Linked DNA regions of Homo sapiens: regions 2, 3 and 4 are each linked to region 1. Evidence: promoter capture Hi-C in 16 types of primary human blood cells and fetal thymus (Javierre and others, 2016). All regions are on one chromosome and are shown on one strand. The core of a region is centred on a gene start or on the middle of the fragment in contact, and the rest is flanking DNA. Distances in the headings are between cores, read along the strand shown. Region 1 holds the start of KATNB1 (katanin regulatory subunit B1). Region 2 holds the start of CNGB1 (cyclic nucleotide gated channel subunit beta 1). Region 3 overlaps SPMIP8 (sperm microtubule inner protein 8). Region 4 has its middle 71 kb from the start of KIFC3.

Evidence for each region. Contacts are between HindIII fragments. The CHiCAGO score rates a contact against its expected background, and 5 or more counts as called.
Region 2: a contact is called between the fragment with the promoter of CNGB1 here and the fragment with the promoter of KATNB1 in region 1, in 1 of 17 cell types (M0 macrophages). The highest score is 5.2, in M0 macrophages.
Region 3: a contact is called between a fragment that was not itself captured here and the fragment with the promoter of KATNB1 in region 1, in 1 of 17 cell types (M1 macrophages). The highest score is 5.6, in M1 macrophages.
Region 4: a contact is called between a fragment that was not itself captured here and the fragment with the promoter of KATNB1 in region 1, in 1 of 17 cell types (M0 macrophages). The highest score is 6.5, in M0 macrophages.

The regions. Positions count from the first base shown.
Region 1 is chr16:57,734,457-57,737,250 of GRCh38, reverse strand. It overlaps KATNB1 (katanin regulatory subunit B1), which reads right to left and starts at 1,481. Exons shown (of 20, transcript NM_005886.3): 1 at 1,396-1,481; 2 at 1-273. The coding sequence starts at 7. LOC107984852 (a long non-coding RNA gene) reads left to right here and starts at 607. Exons shown (of 2, transcript XR_001752221.3): 1 at 607-815; 2 at 1,644-2,794. RefSeq lists enhancers at 286-355, 1,724-1,893, 1,640-1,934, 1,914-2,023, 2,653-2,794 and a silencer at 1,174-1,413. The HindIII fragment of the contact is 9,286 bases long and covers 651-2,794 here.
Region 2 is chr16:57,969,638-57,972,426 of GRCh38, reverse strand. It overlaps CNGB1 (cyclic nucleotide gated channel subunit beta 1), which reads left to right and starts at 1,299. Exons shown (of 33, transcript NM_001297.5): 1 at 1,299-1,367. The HindIII fragment of the contact is 12,254 bases long and covers 1-2,789 here.
Region 3 is chr16:57,987,361-57,990,060 of GRCh38, reverse strand. It overlaps SPMIP8 (sperm microtubule inner protein 8), which reads right to left. Exons shown (of 8, transcript NM_199456.3): 8 at 1,945-2,665. The coding sequence ends at 2,635. Among named protein-coding and RNA genes, the nearest start is that of ZNF319, 12 kb to the left of the region's middle. The HindIII fragment of the contact is 1,218 bases long and covers 707-1,924 here.
Region 4 is chr16:57,872,426-57,875,125 of GRCh38, reverse strand. No RefSeq gene overlaps it. Among named protein-coding and RNA genes, the nearest start is that of KIFC3, 71 kb to the right of the region's middle. RefSeq lists an enhancer at 1,465-1,992. The HindIII fragment of the contact is 1,231 bases long and covers 655-1,885 here.

The sequences.
Region 1 (2,794 bases), core at 232-2,731:
TGGCCATCCTTCAGCTGGCTGGCACCTGAAGCCCCACCCACAAAATAAACTGTGCTTTCCTCGTGGGGTGGGGGTGGATCCCCCCCCAGATCCACCAATCAAGTTGGCAGAGAGTTCCCACACATCCAGGCAGACAGAATGCCTCGTCTTCTGGCCCTGGGGTGCCTCGTGGTTCCAAATTACCCACAGCAGCAACAGCAGCAGCCTGTGCACATCTGTCACGATCCTGGATCATGGAATGTTAGGCTCGAGCCATCTCAGCTCAATACAGGGCTGCAATACAAACAAGAGGTGACGTCATGTTAGAAAATGCTTGGTAAGAGCTGTTGCTCCCTGGATCACCAAGACCACTTGATAAAGACTGACACCCACCAAAGCCACCAGAGTCAGAAGCTGCACTGCAAATTAGGTTTGGGAATCTGCAGAGGGGGCACCTCAGGTAGGGTGATTTGGAACGTAAGGAAAAAGAAACTCCTCCCAGAGGCCAGGATAATGAGCTGCAGCTCTGTTCCGGGATGCTGGCTGCCTAAAGTGCAGCAGCCGCAGTGGGGCGGAGAAGACCACGTGTCTGCAATTCACATAGATTTCCTGCGAGTCGTTGTTTTTGTCTGACGTGTGGGATGTGGGAGAGCGGAGTCAGAAGCTAAGCTTAGGGGCCTAGGAAAGGCATCCCAGAGACGGCCACTGAAGTCCTCCTTGGAAAGAATCTCGAAGACGACCCTGATGGTCCAATTCCCCAGCTCCTGGCAAGGGAACCGCTCCTGCTCCCTGCGATTCCCAAGGACAGAGCTAGGAACTAGGCCTCCAGTCTGGGCGTAAGTGGCTATGACTCTTCAACTCTAAAAGGCCTCCTCATGGAGCCTCCCACCTCCTTCCCACAGCCACTTCACCTCTTTCCCATGAGCCCGCTCCCCTCCGTCCCCTTTCTCCTGGGTCCCCGGGTCTGCCTCTCTAGTCCTCCGTTCACACCCCCTTTTCTCCCTGCCCCCTGAGTCTCCCACTTATGCACATCCTGTCTCCCGATATCCCTCACGTGGCCCCTGCCTCGCCAGACTCCCGTTACTGCCCTTTCCCATATGCTCGCGGGGTCTCCCATTCATTCATTCTCCTACTTCTCTTCTCCCTATTCATTACCTGTCCTTCTGCAGACCCCCAGCTCTGCTTCCGGCCTCCCTGGTTTTGCCCCCTCCGGCCTCCACCCCGACCCCTCTCGTCCGGGGGCGGGGGCAGGTCCCTCGGCCACGGCTGATCCTCCCAACCCTCTGCTTGCGGAGTACGGGCTCTAGCCTCCCCACGCTCAGAGCTCTCTGCCCGCAAGCCCAGCCAGCCCCGCCTGGCTCGGCCCAGCCCAGGGCCCACCGTCCCCTCGCCACCTCGTCCCCTTGCCCACTCCACCTGCAGCTGCGGCTCCGGAGGCCGAGGCTCCGCTCCAGGCGCGACCCCCACTTGCCTCCATCCCCTGCCTTGATTGGCCGCTGCTTGACAACCGACCCTCACAACAAAACCTCCGGCTCAGAGCCCCGCCCACCTTGCCTCCCGCACCAATCAGCTGCCGCGGGTGCTCCGCCTCCTGCCAGGACTGACCAATGGAAGCAGGCGCTTCTGCCGCTTTTCCTCAGTACCCGCCCTCTTTTCCTAAATAGGACTAATCAAGAGGAAGGAACGTTCAAGAGCCGCCCCTTGGCCTCTAATAAACCAATGCAAGCTGCCGTTTCCTTAGTCCCGCCTCCGTCTCAAGTTTTCCCTTTCCTCTCCGTTTCCTCCCTCGAACCTAATTTGTGTCTGAAAACTTTTGAGAGCCGCCCTCCAATGGCGGCTGCGCCAATGGCTTGAGCAACCGTCCTGGATTGACCAATCAGCGTCCGCATTATTGGAAAACTCAATTCCCAGATAGCCAATGGGAAAGGAACTTCGGGGGCAGTGTGAAGCCTCAGGCCTTCCATCTTGGAGTGGGGCAAAACCTAAGGAGGCCTTAGTCGGCATTTTGCCGAAGCTCCTCATTCTTCACTTTGCCTGCAGATGGTCCCCCGTGGCAGGAGGACTTTGTCCCTGTTCTTTGACCCGGACGCCGGCTTGAATCCCCCATGGGAGGTCTAGAAGGAAACAGCCTGATTCCGGAGCCGAGGCAGGCGCTGAACCCTGTAGCACTGCACACGCAGCCACCGCCTCGACTAATGGATGCGTGGGCAAGGGGCTGCTCCCTGAATGGCTGCAATCAGGGAATCGGAGAAAGGCCAGCTTTATTTGTGACACGTTGGGCGGGGTGGGCTCTGGGAAGCGCCGTAACCCTTCTCGACTCAGGGCCTCTCGCGTGGCCGCTTAGGAGGGACTTGGCCCCGCAGCCGCCTCTCCCTGTTGCCCAGAGGTTGTCCCAGGCACCCAGAGCCCCTCGAACCTTGCCCTTCGGCCTCCAGCCTCTCACCGCAGGTCAGGGCTCCTTGGGCTCACATAACGCCCAGTACAACCATAAGAGGTAGGAATTCCTGTTCCCATTTACAGATGAGGAAACTGAGGCCCGGGTTAAGATGCTTGCAGAAAACCACACGGTCAGAAAGTAATAGCCCCAGAATTCGAACCCTTGTTCTGAAAGCCAAAGCGTGGGGGAGTCCCCACTCTGCCTTCTGCTTCAGCCTTCTGCTTCAGATTCTCCTGCTTCAGCCTCCTGGGTAGCTGGAACCACAGGCGCCCGCCACCACGACGGGCTAAGGCTAGTTTTTATATTTTTAGTAGAGACGGGGTTTCTCCATTTTGGCCAGGCTGGTCTTGAACTCCTGACCTTAGGTGATCCACCCGC
Region 2 (2,789 bases), core at 50-2,549, 240 kb before region 1:
CCTCTGTCAACCTCATCTCCCACCACTCTCCCCTGCACCCGTTAAGCTCCAGGCTCCCCGGTTCCCATTCTGCTCCTCAAGGCTCATTCCAGCCTCAGAACCTTTCTCGTTGCAGTGTCCTTGGCCTGGAGCACCACTCACCCAGCTTTTTTCACAGCTGAGTCTTTCTTACTTTTCATGTCTCAGTTCAAATATACATCCACCTCGTCATAGGGGCCTGCCTACCTGCCCCTACTGCCCTCCACAACATGCTTCTGCCCTGTTTGTTTCTTTTATGGCACTTAGCATAATTTGCAATATTCTTTATTTGTCAGTAATCTCCTCCATTGGAATGTAAGCTCCATGAGGACAGGGCCTATGTCTGTCTTGCTCAGTGTGCCAAGGCTGGCACACTGCCAGGCACAAAGGAAGAGCTCTAGGCCAGGTGCAGGGGCTTACATCTGTAATCCCAATACTATGAGAGGCTGAGGCAGGAGGATTGCTTGCATCCAGGAGTTTGAGAGGTTGAGGCTGCAATGAGCTGTGATTGCACCACTTCACTTAGCCTGAGTGACAGAGAGAGACTGTGGCTTAAAAAAAAAAAAAAAAAAAGGAAAGGAAAGGAAAGGAAGAACTCTAGAAATGGTGCGGATAATTAAGTCAAGTCCTGCCCTTTGCCAAATATCCCTCAGGGCCACCACACTGAGCCCCTCTTCCTTGGGCCCTGTCCCTTGCACCCTCTCCTCCTAGATCTCTGTATCCCTTCAAGTGTCCAGCCTCAGTTCACAGGGCAGGTCAGATGCCTCAGTCATCTGCCGGGTCTTGGATCCATCCTCAAGGCCCAGGCCTGGGACACAGCCTTTCTGGCAGAGCCCAAGGCAGGGCTGCTGAGACCCTGCCCAGAGAAGACTCTAAGCCAGAAAGAACCTGCCTGCGTCCTGGCCTGGGGGCTGGAGAGTTGGGGTACACCTCTTGCCACCGCTGAGTGGGAGCTGACAAGCCCCTGCTACCATGAGGAGTCTCCAGGCATCACATGGGAACTCCAAGCTGTTATTCTCCCATCAGCCACTCCGTGTCTTGGCCAAGGTGTATGGGAAGCCAGGCCCCTGGTAAGCCGGGCAGGTCCCCTGGCAACCCATGGTGCTCCAAACCTGGGCCATGCAGGAGCCCTTCCCTGGGGCCCACATCCTTGCTGGACCCTGGGAGTTGGGAGGTGCTGCTGGTTTCCTGGGCATCAACAGCCTCTTTTCTCCCCCTCCCCCATTCAGCACCTGCTAATCCTTTGCACACGGCCCAGCTACTGCCAATTAATCTTCCTTGTGTCTGAGGGGCCAGCTACGAGTGGCAGCAAGAAGGCAATTCCTGGCTGGCGGTTGGCATCTAAGCAGGTAACTCAGGGTGAGGTGGAGGCTCGGTGGGACCCCGAGGGGATCCCCATGTTCTCCCTCTAGAAAGGCATTTAGGTAGGACCAAACTGGCACGGTGGGAAACCTGTGGCTTCCCTCTATCTGGTGGAGCTTGGACTTTAGCGGGCATCAGAATTTTCAGGACAGCTTGTACAATGCAAATTCCTAGGTCCCCCAGGAGGACTTGGGGGACCTAGGAATCTATATTTTCACTAGCTCTCCAGAAGACTCTGGAAATGCTGGTGGTGCAACACCATGGCTCCCCGAGCTGCCACTCGTGGGTCCCCCTTCCCACCTGAGCCTCCCTCATCAAAGTGCAGTCAGCAGGGACACGGGTGAAAGATGGGAGGGACCTGCAAAAATTCTCATTTAGGAGGAAAAAGAAAAATGGGGGATCGGGGAGGCTTCCTTAGTCATTTCCAGAAGGTTTAGAAATGCAAGCGAGAATTGCTGCCTGCTGGGAAGGGTCTACAGGCCTGGCCCGCGGAAGAGGCCAACACTCGGCAAATGCCACGACTACCTGGGAATACATGTGGGGCAGCTGGAATCGGGCAGACCTGAGTGTAAACTCAAGTTGGCCACTGCCGGCTGTGCTGCTTCAGGCGATTCTGTTGACCTTTCTGTGCTACATAATGAAAATTCTTATTTTACTGAGTGCAGGGGCTGGGCGGGGCGTGGTGGTGAGAGCGAGGATGAGTATGATCATGGGTAGAATGCACTTAGCTCAGCCCTGGCTCTCGGGGCTGCCTGGGGCTGGCTGGGGTCAGTGAAATCTGCTATCCCAACATGTGAGCTCTGGCAGTCCCGACCTGGGAAAACATTGTGTCTGTGCCCCCACCTTCAGGGAAATGGAAGACCAGAGGGGTCATGTCTGGCCCAAGTTCATTTTTTGGGAGGCTGAGCCAGGGATCTGACACTTAGAGCTGTGTTCCCACCACAGCCTCTCGTGGGAGAGGCTGGGCTGCTGATGCCAGAGTGGGAACAGAGGTCAGGGCTGTAAGTAGAGGACAGGCAGCACAGCCGTGGGCTCTGGGGAGCTGGGCTTGGGGGCAAGGATCCTGGGCCTGGGCTGCCCTCTTCAGCTGGGGCCAGGGTCCCTGGCAGAAAGGGGCATACAGACTCTCTGCCAAAGCCCGGGTTGCCCATGGCTGGGAGAGGGGTGGGGCACACTCATGTGGGGCAAGAACACATCTAGGGCTAGGAGTTAGCACACACTGACCTGCACGCTGCGCACTGGCCAGGCCATCCTGCAGGGGTTCAGTCATAAGGGCTGGGGCTCCCCATTCCCCAAGGAGAAATCAACCAGAAACAACCTGTACTTAAGGTAGGACTGAAATAACACAGTATATCATGAAAAAAGTCTTACCTGGCATTTTATCTTTTTCTTTCTTTCTTTTTTTAAAA
Region 3 (2,700 bases), core at 66-2,565, 250 kb before region 1:
GAGTAGCTGGGATTACAGGTGTGCACCACCACATCCAGCTAATTTTTGTATTTTTAGTAGAGATGGGGTTTTGCCATGTTGGCCAGGCTGGCCTCGAACTCCTGGTCTCAGGTGGTCCGCCCGCTTGGCCTCCCAAAGTGCTGGGATTACAGGTGTGAGCCAGCCTGCCCGGCCCCAAGAGAGCTTTCTGATGGGACGTCCTATCCTCCCTCTAAGCCCTGGTCAGATGCCCCCACCCCCAGGAAGCCCCCTTTGGTTTCTTCCCCATTCTTGGTTTGGATCTGTCTGGTAGCAGGCAGGCAGTAGAGCCTGGTGGCCAGAGGCGGGGGATGGGGATGGGGGGCTTAGGCAGGCCAGCTTCAATTCTTAGCTCTGCCAATCACCAGATCTTGGGCCAGCCGCTTAACCTTCCTGAGTCCATTTCATCATCTGTAAAATGGGTGTAAAATTACCCATCTCATGGGGTCTGCAAGATGGTTAATGCATTGCCTTCCACTTAAAAATAGAAATTGTACGTGAAAGCAGACTCATTTATGCTTATGTACTCTGCATTTCCTTTATTCTTAGGCACACATTTTTTATATTTATATTTTATATAAATATATATTATTACATATATACATATACATATTTATATTTATATATTTTATAATCTATTTATATTATTGAAATCAGGATTAAATTTACAATCAGTGGGCAAGAAGCTTTAATTAAATTGCTGGTGTGGGTTGCCATTCATGGGGTTTGGGCTGGGAGAACATGGTCTATGTGTGTACTCATGTGATCACCTCTACTTTCAGGTTCTCATTGGCTGGGCCTGCTGGGCTGGAGGCACTTCAAAGGCAGGGAGGGCATCTTGTCTGTGTCCTCCCAGCACCAGCAAAGGGCCTGGCCCAGGCAAAGCTCTTTAGTGTTCGCTGGGCTGTATTCTGGCAGGGACTTGCCCAGTCATTCAAGGAAGCAGGGCCAGGAAAAACACCCCAGTCACTTGATGCCATCTGGCAGGCTTCAGCATGTCTGCTGGGGTTCTCTGGCTGGCCCACCTCTCCCAGGCCAGGATTCTAGCATCCCTGCTGTGAGCCCTGGGCAAGTCCAGCTCTTCTCTGAGTTGTCATTTGGAGGGGACACTGGGTGGCACAGAATGTGGCTCTGACACTCCAGGCGGCTCTGCCAGTGGCTTCCCAAGTGCAGTCCCAAAGTGGACACATGATTCTGTACATGATTTCAGGAGGTCTGTGGGTCCCTGAAGCCCCAGGTTTCAGGACCAGAAGTCCTATGCAGGTAGATTTTTAGCTTGGTAGCTATTTATCCTGATCTGGGTCCATGCTTGCCAGCTGCCCACAGGTGGGATGGGAGTAGGGTATCTGAAAGGTCCTGGAGCTAAGCACAGATGCTAGCAGCCCTAACTCCCTGATATGGTTTGGCTGTGTCCCCACCCAAATCTCATCTTGAATTGTAGCGCTCTTAATTCCTTCATGTTGTGGGAGGGGGCCAGTGGGAGATAATTGCATCACGGGGGCGGTTTCCCCCATACTGTTCTCGTGGTAGTGAATAAGTCTCACGAGATCTGATGGTCTTATAAGGGAAACGCTTTCGCTTGGCACTCATTCTCTCTTGCTGCCACCATGTAAGAAGTGCCTTTTGCCTTCCACCATGATTATGAGGCCTCCCCAGCCATGTGGAACTGTGAGTCCATTAAACCTCTTTCTCTTCCCAGTCTTGGGTATGTCTTTATCAGCAGCATGAAAACAGACTAATACACCCCCTTACCATGCTGGAGATGCTCTTCCCTAGCCCCCTGGATGGCGTTATTCCAGACCTGGGCCAGGAGTCCCCACACTGTCCCCGGGACATCATACCTTCCTTTCACAGGAGTGGCTTGGAATGGATGGTTGGTGGGTAGACAAGGGCTAGTCCTGAAGCTTCATGGATAGAGCAGAGGACTTTTTGCTTAAATGACATGTTTATTGGTGGTGCTTTGGAGAGCGGGGAACTTTCTTCTCTGAGTGGCTTCATGCATCTCATGCAAGTTTAGACTCTACATTCTGTTGCGTCACAGGAATCAAGGCCATAGGCCTGGCCAGCTCCCCTTGCCCCAGCCTGCTCCCACACCTTCAGGGGGACCCCAGGCACAGGGAAGCCCCCCAGAGCACACCAGTATGACAAGAGCTTCAAAAAGGCACCTAAAAATAGCTTTCTAGCCCTCTCCCTTTCTTCTTAGGGCTCAAATTCAGGATCTGAAATGGAGGGGGCTTGGGTGTGGGGCTGCAGGCAAGGGGCTGGAGCACATCTCTTGCTCTTGGATCTCAATTCTGGCTGGACCTTGCGGCTTACACCCTGACTCTCAAACCAGGTCACCAGACATTTTTCTCCAACCCCCCACCAGTCCTCCAGGAGTTGGCCGGGGACGGGCAAGGGTAAGATACTGTCATCCTGTGGCCCTGACCCTCTCCCAGGCTGTGCAACACACACAGACAGAGACAATTGCGTGTGTCTCTAAGGGAGCATTAGGTTTATTTCTAGTTAGGCTGAACTCCTGGGGAGATGGCTGGTGCCACCATAAGTCCTCTGTCTGGCCAGGGGACCTGAGGTGGCACCGTCCGGCAGCCTGGGAGTCAGCCTCCTTTCCAGAGATTAATGCCAGGGGGTCAGGTAGTTGACACGACTGTGGAGAGAAGTAGGGGTGAGGTGGGGGTTTCC
Region 4 (2,700 bases), core at 21-2,520, 140 kb before region 1:
GCTTGAACCCGAGAGGTGGAGGTTGTGGTGAGCCGAGATCACACCACTGTACTACTCCAGCCTGGGTGACAGAGCAAGACTCTGTTAAAAAAAAAAGAAAAAAAAAGGAAGAAGATTCAAAGGATGCTTGATAAACTCATTGTAACCAAAAAATTGTGAGTAACATTTCCTAGATTCAATTTCCTGAGCACTATCTCCTTCGATATCTCTTCTGAAATGAAAAGAAAGACGGCCTGAGTGCCCTTATTTAATTTATTTATTTTTTGAGATGGAGTATTGTTCTGTTGCCCAGGCTGGAGTGCAATGGCGTGATCTCAGCTTACTACAACCTCTGCCTCCCGAGTTCAAGTGATTTCCGGCTAATTTTTGTATTTTTGGTAGAGATGCGGTTTCACCATGATGGCCAGGCTGGTTTCGAACTCCTGACCTCAAGTGATCCTGCCACCTTGGGCTCCCAAAGTACTGGGATTACAGGCGTCAGCCATTGCTCCTAGCCCTTGTATTATTCTTTCAATGGGCATAAGGTGTTGGCATCTCCAGGGGGTCCTCTTCCCTGGTCACCATGGTTGAGTTCCAGATTTAGCAAGTAAAAATACAGAAAGCCCAGGTAAATTTGAATTTCAGATAAACAATGAAGGTTTTTTTTTTTAAGCTTAAGTATATCTCATGCAATACTTGGGATATACTTATGCTAAAAAAAATTGTTATTTATCCAAAATTCAAATTCAACTTGGTGCCCTGTGTTTTTATCTGGCAATTCTGCAAGGTGAGGATGAGTGTCTCTCCTGCCCAGAGCAATTGGGGCTGCACCCTCTAGGGCCAACCTTGGGCCAGAGCCATCCTGGCATGCCCCTTCTCCAGAGCCAATCATGATTGGTGGAGGAAGAGGGAAAGCACCCACCCCAGGCTGCTGTTAGTGGTTTTTGTTTTTTATAGAGATGGGGTATCATTATGTTGCCCAGACTGGTCTAGAACTCCATGCCTCAAGCAATCCTTCTGCCTCCTTGCTGGGATTACAGGCATGTACGACCACGTCCAGCCTGTCCTGTCAGTGTTTCATTGTTCTTGTTTTTGAGACAGGGTCTTGCTCTGTCACCCACGCTGGAGTACAGTGGTTCAATCACAGCTCACTGCAGCCTCGACCTCCAGGACTCAGGTGATCCTCCTGCCACAGACATGCACCTCCACACCTGGCTATTTTTTTTTAACTATTTGTAGAGACGGGGGATAGGGGGTGGTGGGGACAAGTCGGGGGTCTCCCTATGTTGCCCAGGCTGGTCTCGAACTCCCTAACTCAAACAATCCTTTCATCTTGGCCTCCCAAAGTGTTGAGATTACAGATGTGAGCCACCACGTCTGGCCTGCCAGTGGTTTTTTAATATTTATCTTTATTAATTTTATCCTGAATGCACACACACAGGTGTTTGGGATCAGAGACAGATTTTATATTAATTACCTTTTAGCAAATAATAAGTACATAGCCTCCGCTCCCAGCCTCCCCTTAAGCCTTACTCCTGGCCAGGAAATGTCCCGTGCAAGTAGCCTGACACTCCATAGATGAAGGACAAGTTTTCTCTGCTTATAAAGGCGAAGGAGGTAGCTATTCCCCTCCCTTTTTGAAAGGGTCTCCTTGGAAACTTAATGGGCCCGAAACCTAACCCCAGCCCTTTGATATGTAAATAAAGCCTCACCCGGAACGAGATAGCCCCAGGTGTCTCAGCTTTAACCACCTGGAGGGGTCTTCAAGTTCTGGGACTTTCTCCCTTTGACATATAAATACCTAGGGAGATAGCGCCGGAGTCTTCCCGGCATTTTGGAGCTAGCCAAGAGACCTAGGCTCGGCTGTGGCCATTTGGCCGTCTCCCGGAGGGAGGTGAGAGAAGCTTTAGGATCCTTTCTAATCAAGGCAGTTAACTAGACAAATGGCTCCAGAGCGCATTATCAAGAGTCTCGGGAGACTGGGTCCCCACCTTTCACATTTCCAAATTTCTTCCTTTTCTTTCCTTCCTTCCTTCCTTTCTTTTTTCTTTTCTTTTTTTTTTTTTTTTTTTTTTTGACAGAGTCTCGCTCTGTCGCCCAGGCTTGAGTGCAGTGGTGCAATCTTGGCTCACCGCAACCTCCGCCTCCCAGACTAAAGCAATTCTCCTGCCTCCGCCTCCAGAGTGTCTAGAAATACAGGTGCGCGCCACTACCGCCCGGCTAATCTTTGTATTTTTAGTGGAGACAGTGTTTCACCATGCTGGCTAGGCTGGTCTTGAACTCCTGACCTCAAATGATCCACCGCACCCAGCCGCATTTCCAAATTTCTGAAATCAAGTGTTCCTTAATGAAAAGTGGGTAGAGGAGAGGGTCACGTGAAGTGTTTCCAGGCAGGTTCAAAAGAATAATTCAGATACCATGGAAAACTTCCACATATAAGTCAAATGTAAGTAATAAGTTTTAAAATCAGGGCCAGGTGCGCTGGCTCACACCTGTAACCACAGCACTTTGAGAGGCTGAGGCAGCAGGATCACTTGAGCCCAGGAGTTCAATACCAGTCTAGGTAACATGGCGAAAACCCGACTCCACCAAATATATATATATAATAAAAATTAGCCAGGGGTGGTGGCACATGCCTATAGTCCCAGCTAGTCAGAAGGCTGAGGTGTGAGGATTGCTTGAGCCCAGGAAGTCGAGGCTGCAGTGAACTGTGATGGTACC